Linked DNA regions of Homo sapiens: region 2 is linked to region 1. Evidence: promoter capture Hi-C in human tissues and cell types (Jung and others, 2019). All regions are on one chromosome and are shown on one strand. Each heading gives the region's core, a stretch centred on a gene start or on the middle of the fragment in contact. The rest is flanking DNA. Distances are from core to core; before and after follow the strand shown. Region 1 holds the start of RGS17 (regulator of G protein signaling 17). Region 2 has its middle 37 kb from the start of RGS17.

The links. Contacts are between HindIII fragments. The study calls those that stand out against the background at their distance.
Region 2: a contact is called between a fragment that was not itself captured here and the fragment with the promoter of RGS17 in region 1, in 1 of the 25 tissues and cell types used here (bladder).

What each region holds. Positions count from the first base shown.
Region 1 is chr6:153,128,694-153,133,879 of GRCh38, reverse strand. RGS17 (regulator of G protein signaling 17) reads left to right here and starts at 2,598. Exons shown (of 5, transcript NM_012419.5): 1 at 2,598-2,756. RefSeq lists a silencer at 2,667-2,716. The HindIII fragment of the contact is 10,722 bases long and covers 1-5,186 here.
Region 2 is chr6:153,165,521-153,170,398 of GRCh38, reverse strand. No RefSeq gene overlaps it. Among named protein-coding and RNA genes, the nearest start is that of RGS17, 37 kb to the right of the region's middle. The HindIII fragment of the contact is 3,647 bases long and covers 1-3,475 here.

The DNA.
Region 1 (5,186 bases), core at 1,349-3,848:
AGATCCCGAGCCCTGCCCCGCGGGAAGGCAGCTAAGGCCCGGTGAGAAATCGAGCGCAGCGCCGGTGGGCTGGCACTGCTGGGTGACCCAGTACACCCTCCGCAGCCGCTGGCCCGGGTGCTAAACCCCTCATTGCCCGGGGTCGGCAGGGCCTGCCGGCTGCTCCGAGTGCGGGGCCCGCCAAGCCCACGCCCACCCGGAACTCCAGCTGGCCCGCAAGCGCCGCGCGCAGCCCCGGTTCCCGCTCGCGCCTCCCCCTCCACACCTCCTTGCAAGCTGAGGGAGCCGGCTCTGGCCTTGGCCAGCCCAGAAAGGGGCTCCCACAGTGCAGCGGTGGGCTGAAGGGCTCCTCAAGTGCCGCCAAAGCGGGAGTCCAGGCAGAGGAGGCGCCCAGAGCGAGCGAGGGCTGTGAGGACTGCCGGCACGCTGTCACCTCTCATTAGGAGGGTGTTGTTCGGGGTTGTGGAGGATAGAAATGAGCAGACAGAATAGGGGCTTTTGTGGTTGCCCAGGTGAGAGATGACAATAGCTTGGACTAAGGTTATGGCAGTAGAGAGGGAGCAAAGTAGATACCTTGGAAATATATTTTGGAGGTGAAGAAAACATGACTAATTAATTGAGTGCGGGGATGAAAGAAAGCAACAAAACGAGGATGACTTCTAAATTTTTGGAATGAACAACAGAGTAGAACAATTTGAGGAGGAACAGGTTTGGAGGGGGTGGATATCCGGAGTTCCGCTTCTGAGATGCCTGTTAACCATGATAATAATAGTATCTACCTTGTAGGGTTGTTGTGAACAACGAATACGAAATATGAGGAGAATTTAGATCTGTACCTAGCATGTAGTAATTGTTCAATAAATACCAGCTACGACAATTATTCCTCAAGTGGAGATGTAAAGGTAGTGAAGGACATAAGAGTTCTGTGTGAGGCCAGGACAGGACTGAAGACATAAATCTGAAAGTTATATAGGATTCAACGCTGCTCAAATCATTTTTGGTGAAGAACTTTTATCTTTATCCACCGCGAATCAATACTGCAGTGGACTAGCCGTGTTTGTCTCTCCAAAATTCGTATGTTCGCATTCTAACCCTCAAGATGATGATATAAAGAGGTGGAACCCTTGGAAGGTGGTTAGGTCATGAGGGTGGAGCCCTCATGAATGGGACTAGTGTCCTTATAAAAGAGACCCCAGAGAGCTCCCTTGCTCACTTCCACCACGTGAAGACACAGCAAGGAGTCAGCAGTTCATGAGCTCGGAATTGGGCCCTCACCAAATAAGGTATCTGCCTACATCTTGATCTTGGACTTCCCAGTCTCCAGAACTGTAAGAAATCAGTTTCTGTTGTTTATAAGCCATCCAGTCTATGGTATTTTGTTATAGCAGCCTGGAAGACAAAGACAAATACTTCTGTGAAATCCAACAAAAATGAAGACACTTTGAAGAGCACTAGTACTCAAAGCCATGGGAGGCCCTGGAGGAGGCCCTGAGACATATTTAACCCAAGTACCCGTGAGTCTATGAGGATGGAGGCACAGGAGAGTTCAGTAGGCTGAAATAACACAACGCTTGCTTACATGAACACACAAGGAAGGGGAACTCACACAGATTTACAAGTAATCTGTTTTAATTAGGTGTAAGAAAAAAAAGCCCATTCACTCCTGCAGGAACTCCCTCCTCTTCCCACAGATGTGGTATCTGAAGAGCAAGACACTGCTTCTCCACTTCCTCCGCACAAACACTTTAGTCTAATCATTGGAGATGCAATCTAGCGCTCGGGTTGCATTAAGTATCCCAAGCTCCTTCCCTACCAAGCTGGGCTCCACTTGGGCACAGAACGATTATCAGACCTGGTAACTACCAAGCTGTCCCCTAAGGATGCTCTAGGCCCCAAGCATCAGCACCTCCGTTAATAATTCTCCACTCTTGCCTTGTCATCGGCTTTTCTCACTCAAAACTCTGCTCCAGCGAGTGGTCCGGGCGCCTGAGGCAGCTGGCATGGGCTAGGCCAGAGAGCACCTGCACTGATTCTTAGGAGAAAAGGTCCTCTTTCTGGGCGAGGAAGTCAATAAAGTAAAGGACGCTTCATAAAGTCCTTCGGGAAGCAAAACTTGCTTAACTTCACACTTCCTTGAACCCCCACGCAGGGAATGCTTCCTCCGGGACCCGGAGCAGGCAGGCTGCTGTGCCTGGCAGGCCGGCTCCTGGGTGCAAGGCTCCCGCGCAGCCCAGGACAGCAGCGCGCGGGCTACGGGCGAGTGGAGTTGCAGGGGCCCGGGCGGAGAGCCGCTGTCACCCAGGGAAGCTCTCGGGACTCCGGGCCTCCCGCGAAGCTCCGGACGGGCGTCACCGAAGCCGAGAGTCCCGGCCGAGCCCCTCCGCACGGTGGGCGCCGCGCCCAGGCGAGCGCGCGAGGTCGGGCGGGGCCGGGGGCCGCCCGGGGAGGGGGCGGGGCCGGGACTCTCGCGGCCGCGCGCAGGGGCTGGGAAGCTGCCCCTCCGGCCGCGCCGGGCGAGGGGCTGCGCCGGCCCGCGAGGCGCATGCGCGCTGCCGAGCGGCTCTCGCTCCCTCCCCGCCCACCGCTCCCTCCTCCCCCTCCCCCTCCTCTGCATCCTCGCCGCTCTCCCTCTCTCCTCGCCCGCTGGGTGCTGAAGTTGGGCGGATGGCAGCAAACCGGCTCCGCTAGAGGACCGAGCCGCCCAGCCCCGCTCCCCCGGACCCATCGGCGCGCTGCCCACACCTCCAGGCGACCGGGTAAGACGCTGCCTCCAAAACAAGCGGTGCTAAGTAAATGACATCAAAATGTCTGCTTTGCACCAATGGATGGATTTTTTTCAAGGTAGGGGGGAGGTGAAGGAAGGAGGGGGCGGAGAGCGCGACCGCCCATGCCCCGGCGGGGGCGGCTGCGCGGCGCTGGGGTCTCAGCTGTGGCCGCGGCGCCCTGAGCGGGAGCGGGGGCCGCGCCGCGGGTCCGGGAAGTTGAATCCCGCGTCGCTGCCTGGACGCGGTCCGCTCGCCGCCCTCAGCTGCTGCAGGGAACCGGGCGAGTGTCCTGCCCGCCGGGGAACGCTCGGCCAGGTCCCAGAGTTCCCGCGGAGAGCGGGGCGCCTGCTGGGGGCGGCCGGGAGGGCCGGGCCAGGGGCGCGGGAGACCCCGCGGGGACGCGAGGTGTTGCGGGTTTTGTGCGGTTGGTTGGGAACGAGGAGAATGTGCCATCAACAGTGTCCAATCGACTGATCACCTTGGGTGCTGTGTTTCCTCCCTTATCTCTCTTTACCTTTGGGAAAATGCACTGCTCAGGTGGGGAAGGTGTTCGAAGAAGAGGTTGCGAAAATGAATCCTTTGACCAGCAGTAAAATACCGGAGGGGTGTGTGTGTGTGTGTGTGTGTGTGTATGTGTATGTATGTATAGGGGGTGGGGGGTCTCTTTTGTTCCTTCCCCTCCCCTTAGTCAAAGGAAAGGGAGTCCTGGCGTGTGCGGCGCGGGGTGGATTCCACAGCCACCGAGGGGGCGAGGACGAGGAACGCCCACCAACCGCGAGTCGCTGCCCGGGTGGGCGCATCGGAGCCTCCTTTGCTGTAGGTGATGGTGGTCTTTCCGTGATCGATGGAATCATAGTTTAATCTCTGCCTCCCCGCCAGCCTCCCTGCTGTCCCTCATCGAGTGCTGCGGCAGAGGCTGGGTGCAGACACGGCCGCTTTCTCCTCTTCTCTCTGCCTCCCTGTCTCCCTGAATAAATGCCGGAGGACTAGGGGATGGCGGAGGGACAGAGCTGGACTCGGAAGCCGCGGGTGGGAGCTGCTCCTCGCGAGCCCGAGGCTGCTGGCACCTTGTCGCGGGCAGCCCGCGCCAGCCTCGGGAGTCCCTGGGCTCCGGGAGAGCGAGCCGGGGTCGCCTGGCCACAAAGATGCCCGCGCGCCCGCCCTGCGTACGGGACCCGCCCTGCGCCCTGAGCCCTGCGCCTCGCCCGGAGCCCGGGACGTCGGTTCACGTGGGAGAACCCCTGTCGCCCGGGGACGATTGACCCTGGCTCCTGGCATAACTCTCCTGACCTCCCCTGACCTTTCCATAAATGCTTCTTTCAAAAGATTCACTATAAGATTTGTCTGGAGAACTTCACACTCTTCAGAGTTATTTCTTTCTTTTCTTAAATTGTTTTACGGCGAGATTCTCTCCAGCGTGGGATGGCTTTCACAAATAATAAAGAGAAATCTTAGTTTGGTTCCCATCTAGAATAAGCAGTTCTGAGGCTGGGTGCCATCTGCATTTCCGGCGTTCATACATACTGGTTTTCCGGGTGATGAACCCTTCTGAAAATCATTTAATTGAAGACGTGAGAATTGATTTTTATTAGTGTAGTGGAAAATAATGCTTTCCTCCTCGATTCACAACTGCCAGACGCTGCGTGTACGAAATAATTTGCAAACCGTGAAACATTTAAAGTACATTGTACTTGTTTCCGAAGTCTTCTGTAGTGAGAGTATTATCCAAGAAATATGCATTATAGCACTCCTATCTAATGGAAGGGTGATTTAATACAAATGAATGAGAAGTTTGACCTCCTCCAGTTGTTACTGTTGTTAAGCCATTTCTTCTGTTAACATGAACTAAAACAGTAATTAGCACACTCATGGGAGACTGGATTTATTCACTAGTTTTTATAGTCTTTTGAAACCCGCACTTAGAGCCACCATAGGAGAGTAGTTTATTTAGTTTGAGGTAACAAGAAAAGAAGTGTTCGTTATTACAAAAAGATTGAGTGGTATTACTTATTAAATAAGATAAATCTCCATGGCAATGACACGTGATCTCAGAGCCAGGGGCACTCATCCTTCCTCCTGAAATTAGTCTGAACGATTAAGAAAACCGTCGAATTTACAGAACAAATAACATAAGGTGTCTGTTATGCTGATTGATTTCGACCCTTTTTGCTATAGTTCCGCAACTACTCCTTGGCGTTTAGTCCCCACGGAAGGGAATTAACAAGGAGAGTTAATTTACTATCCTGTTCATTCTAAGGCAAACAGCATTTCCTTCTCAAATAGGTATCTCTTTGGTTGTAGGGCTCTTCCTCTGAGGTACTTATTTATTTGAATTCATCATGTTTAAGGTCTAAGTTCCTTATTCCTGTGACCATTTTATACTTTTGCATAATAATAAATAATAATAATAATAAACCTTCC
Region 2 (4,878 bases), core at 403-2,902, 37 kb before region 1:
CCTTCATCTCTTCTCCAAGTTCTCAACATACGAAAGGAGAAATGGCTAGTGGAATGGGGAGAAGGTAGGGAAGCACAGATAGCACTTTGTCATTTTTGGAAGTTCTTTAGCCAAAGTTGGAAGAGAGGAGCATTCGAATGTGAACATGAGACTGAAGTTTTAAATGGGCCCCACGTGAACTGGACTAAATGATTAAACATGTGCACTCGGTATGGATCTGTTCAGATGTCACTAAGGGATGGGAAAATGAGATCTGAAAGAAGTAAGGGGATAAAATAAAACTATTTCATTTCATATTTGTGCTTAAAGAAATGTAGACTTTTTAAAGAACCAGATGTAAAACCTACTATCATCTTTCAACTAGACAACTATGTTAAATTGCTCCAGGTCTACCAGCATCCACTCTGGTCTCTCTCAAACGTGATTATGAAAAAATTACACCTAATTGTGTCACCCTCCCACCTCTAATTAAAACCCTCCCATTTTAAGACCTATTATTTTTAAGACAAAACGAAATGTTTTTATGTAAACTATGAAGATCTCAATTTGGATTCCACCTAACAACCCAGCATCATGTTTTTCCAACCTCTCTTCCTTTGCTATTTACTCCAGCCTTCTTTCAATCCTTCTTCTTGCCACTGTCTCTCATGCCACAGGACCTTTGCACATGTTCTTCTCCCTGGATTCATCCCACGTTTTTCACACTTAACTCTGAATAATTCCTTGGATCTTAGCTCAGAAATCATTTCCTAAGAGCATCCTTTCCTCTGTCTGCTACATCCTACAATTAGAACTCTGAAAGCATGTGAATCACTCCTTCACGTATTTATCAGAGATGCAATTTTGTATTAGTGTGTGTGTCGTTATTTGGTTATGTCTTTCTCTCTGTGTTTCTTGTCTTCTCCCGACCCCCAACATTGAGCTCTGTGATGACAGAAATGACGTCTATTAGGACTCATTTTTGTGTCCGCAGGTTCCAACACAGTATCTGGCACATAGATATAATAAGTCAATGTTTAATGAATAAGTGAACCACAAACTTTATATATTAGGATAAATAAAAATAATTGCTACTAAATTTATGACCCTAGAATCCATCCATAGCTTTTCTCTTAAAATTATTGTTATTAAATATGCCAATGATCTTAGTATTTCGGTTTCGCTGGTCACAGTCCATAAAAACTTGAAAAGTTCACTCTGAAATCCAAGACATAAACTAGATACCAAGTGTTAACCCTGTAATCTGTGTGCCCCGGGCCACAGAGATGCTGCTCCCTCAACATCCTTAGGTCCTAGAAAGCATTTAGGTAAACCAACTAGGGGAAAAAAAAGTAAAGAGTAGAAGAATACAGACCCACTAACAAGACCAAGCTCCCAATACAAAATGGAAGGGAAAGTATACCAGCAAAAGTACTGCGACAGTGGGTACATAGTAAGTCCTCAGCAAATGCAGGAGGATTCTCACAATTATTATATAGGCATAATGTTTTATTTGCTAATAAATCCTGACCATGTGCAAAATTCAGCTGCAATTTTCTTTGTGTTTAATTTTTAAATAAATCACTGTTTATAAAATTCTGACCAAGTTAATTTGTTTTTTTATACTCTTTATAGCAAACTTGTCTAAGGATCTAACTTTATGGAACTTTTTTTCACATTTTTAAGGAACAAATAGTACACTATGTTATTAGAATTCAGAGACAGTATTAAATTAAATTAATTTATTTTATATTTCTCTCTGGACACAGCTGAACCTTACAAACATGCAACAGCCAACCTGCCCAGCACCAGGCAACACATGGAAAACCACCCAGATTTCTCTAAAATCATTGGTTAAACGAAACTGTCATGGCTCAGTAGTACTTTGTGCTTTTGATACTGAAGCAACGTCAATGCTAGATGAACTTATTCTTAGTGAGAATTTGGCTGCTCACCTCTGGGAATATCATTTGAAAATAACCTAATGTTTTTAAGGTTACTCTTAGTGTGATTAAATAATTTCCAAATGGCTGCTCCAGGGTGAAGGATCTTTTTTTCTTTCTAGAAATAACTTCACCATTTTTTCAACCCCAGAATGTCATCCTCAATGTACAAAATAGATCATAAACTAAAACATTAAAGTAAAAATCAAACCTTATATGTACATCAAAGATTCAGCCTGTGTCAAACAGTGGCAAGCTTTATAAAGAAAGGAAAGAAGAAAGCCAGCACTCTTTGGAATAGAAGTGCTGTAATCCCTTACTAAAAACTCTGATTTAAACATGTGGTCTAAATACTGTAAGCACAGGAGTATCGCACAATTAGAAACATATTTAAGACAAGAATTTTTAAAAGACATGTTTATGCAATTCTGTACTTTACTCAATCTAAAAAGAGTGTGTGCAATCTTATTTATACATTAACCACTATCATGAAAACTATGGCTTAGATATAGCAGTGATAAAGTTTTTCAGTAATTTTTCTTGAGACTAGCAAGGTTAATCATTAGGATTAGTTTACATGAAAATGGCGAACTGCCTCTCTGTTTTTTCTTGAATTTCCATGGTGAGCAATAACCAAAAAAATTAGTATTCCTTCCATGTTATTCACGATTCTCCTATTTCATGACTTTATCAGTATCATTTGTAAAAAGAAATTATGTTTCTGTGGTTACTACTGTGAAAAGTCATTAAACAATGCAAGCAAAAAGCTTAAGATAAAAGCAGCATGCTTTCATTCTATTGCCAATATTCCACCGGTGAAGGCTGCACATCTATCCAAATCATGTGGGGAGGACTGAGATGCATGAGTAGGGTGGAGAAATAGTTGAGACCACTGCCCATTTTATGAGAATATAATGTTCACAACTCATTTTCAGGAAGCCATACTCTCTGTGTTTCAATAACAGTGATGAGTTTGTCCTGAGTCATCCACACTCTTGCCCAGATGTTTCTGTGAGTCAGCGCTTAATTTTTAACAAGTACATTCCGGGAAAACAAACATACAGCACAAGATATTTATATTAATTTTTAAATGTTCATGAAAATCAACATAATATCAAATTACTATAATTTCTAAACAATCTCCTATAATTATGTATAGATTTACTCCACAAAATGATTTAGGCCATCAATATTTTTCAGCACTGGTGGCTGAGGACTCTTGCTGACTTCCTGCAGCTTAGCAGGGAATCTAGGTAACGAGCAGCTTAACAGGACAATTTTGTATTACTCATCATTTTATTCATTCAGTAAAATGACCCCATTCATCCACTGGGGTCATTTTACTGCGATTCCCAAATCATTCAGGGCCACACAGATTTTCGGCCCTTCGTTTCACAAGATAGGAAGCAGAAAAGATTTTCCAACTTGGCTGCTTGCTTAGCAAGATTATAGACTGTTCTGATAAATCATTCTATTCACATTAGGCTGCATGGTCATCTTTTCAAGGCAGTTTGTTTGAGGATCAAGTCATGATCATGAGGAGTTTTTCATAAGTTAGTATGTTCCAATCAATGAAGTTGAGAGATGATAGATTAATGTGGAAAAGAAACCAACGATTATCATTCATATCTACTTAAGTCACAATTACTCTTATAAATGCAAACTATATAATTAAAACACTGCTTGAGAACAAAAACCAACCTCGCTTTATTAGGGTGGTGTGCAAAGGAATATAAACTGAGGCAACAGAGTCCTTTTTTGGGACTGATGCTTAAGATTACAGAATATAGCCAGTGCAGTCTGTTTATGAGAATCTGAAATATTAGGCAAGGCCATGTCACATAATCGTTGAAGGACTGTCACAACCAAAAATGGCTGCCACTTTTCTGAAAAGTCACACTGGGGAAGTGCTAGACCCAGTCAATCACTCTACAGATCTCACACTTAGTGACAAGAACTGCTGAAACTCTGAAAGGAGAAAATTAACAATAGACATAGAAAAACAATTGGAATATTTCAGAAAGTACTATGTTGCAGAAGTACTACTATGAATTTTAGTGGCCCTATTAAAAACCCTCTTCAAGAGAAGACATGATAGAATGTGCAAATTTACTTGATTTTTGTTAAAACCAAGTCTTGGTGAGTTAAAATAGGGAGTCCTCCTAAACTGTAGGACCTTCCTCTTTCTTGTCCTGCTCTATTTACATTGATTGTCCAATAAATAGAGGTTGTACAAGATAGAAATCATGAGATGTTCTGCATAGTTAATACCAGAAGTGGGTTTATAATAATCTGTATATCTATTTGATTATTCCATATAAATACTTAGAACCAGGAAGCTTAACTTGAAAAGTGACTTTATTTAGAATGGTAGACACGTCATAGATAGGTAATTCCTATCCTGCCATTATTTTATGAAATAGAATTGTAAAGAAAATATGTCGTTACAGGAATTCATACAATATTTTTAAGCAGAGGACATTTTCACATCTGCATTTGGAAAAATATTTTTGAAAGACAATACAGAGAGTTTGAAGAGCATAAAACCAATTAAAAGTCTATTTCAATGGACTCGGGAAAGGAACAGCCTAAGACTGGACATCTTATCTGTTTGATCTGTGCCTCAGTCCACCACCACCCCTTATTCTTCCACCACTGTTGGTAAAAATTGAAGTCAAAGCCAAGTAAATAATCATTGCAGCTAAGGTATCTGATATGTTTTGGCTGTGTCCCCACCCAAATCTCATCTTGAATTGTAGCTCCCATAATTCCCACATGTCATGAGAGGGACCTAGCGGGAGGTAATTGAATCATAAGGGTGGGTCTTTCCCGTGCTGTTCTCATGATAATGAATAAGTCTCATGAGATCTGATGGTTTTATAAAGGGGAGTTCCTCTGCACACGCTCTCTTGCCTGCTGCCATGTAAGATGTAACTTTGCTGCTCATTCATCTTCA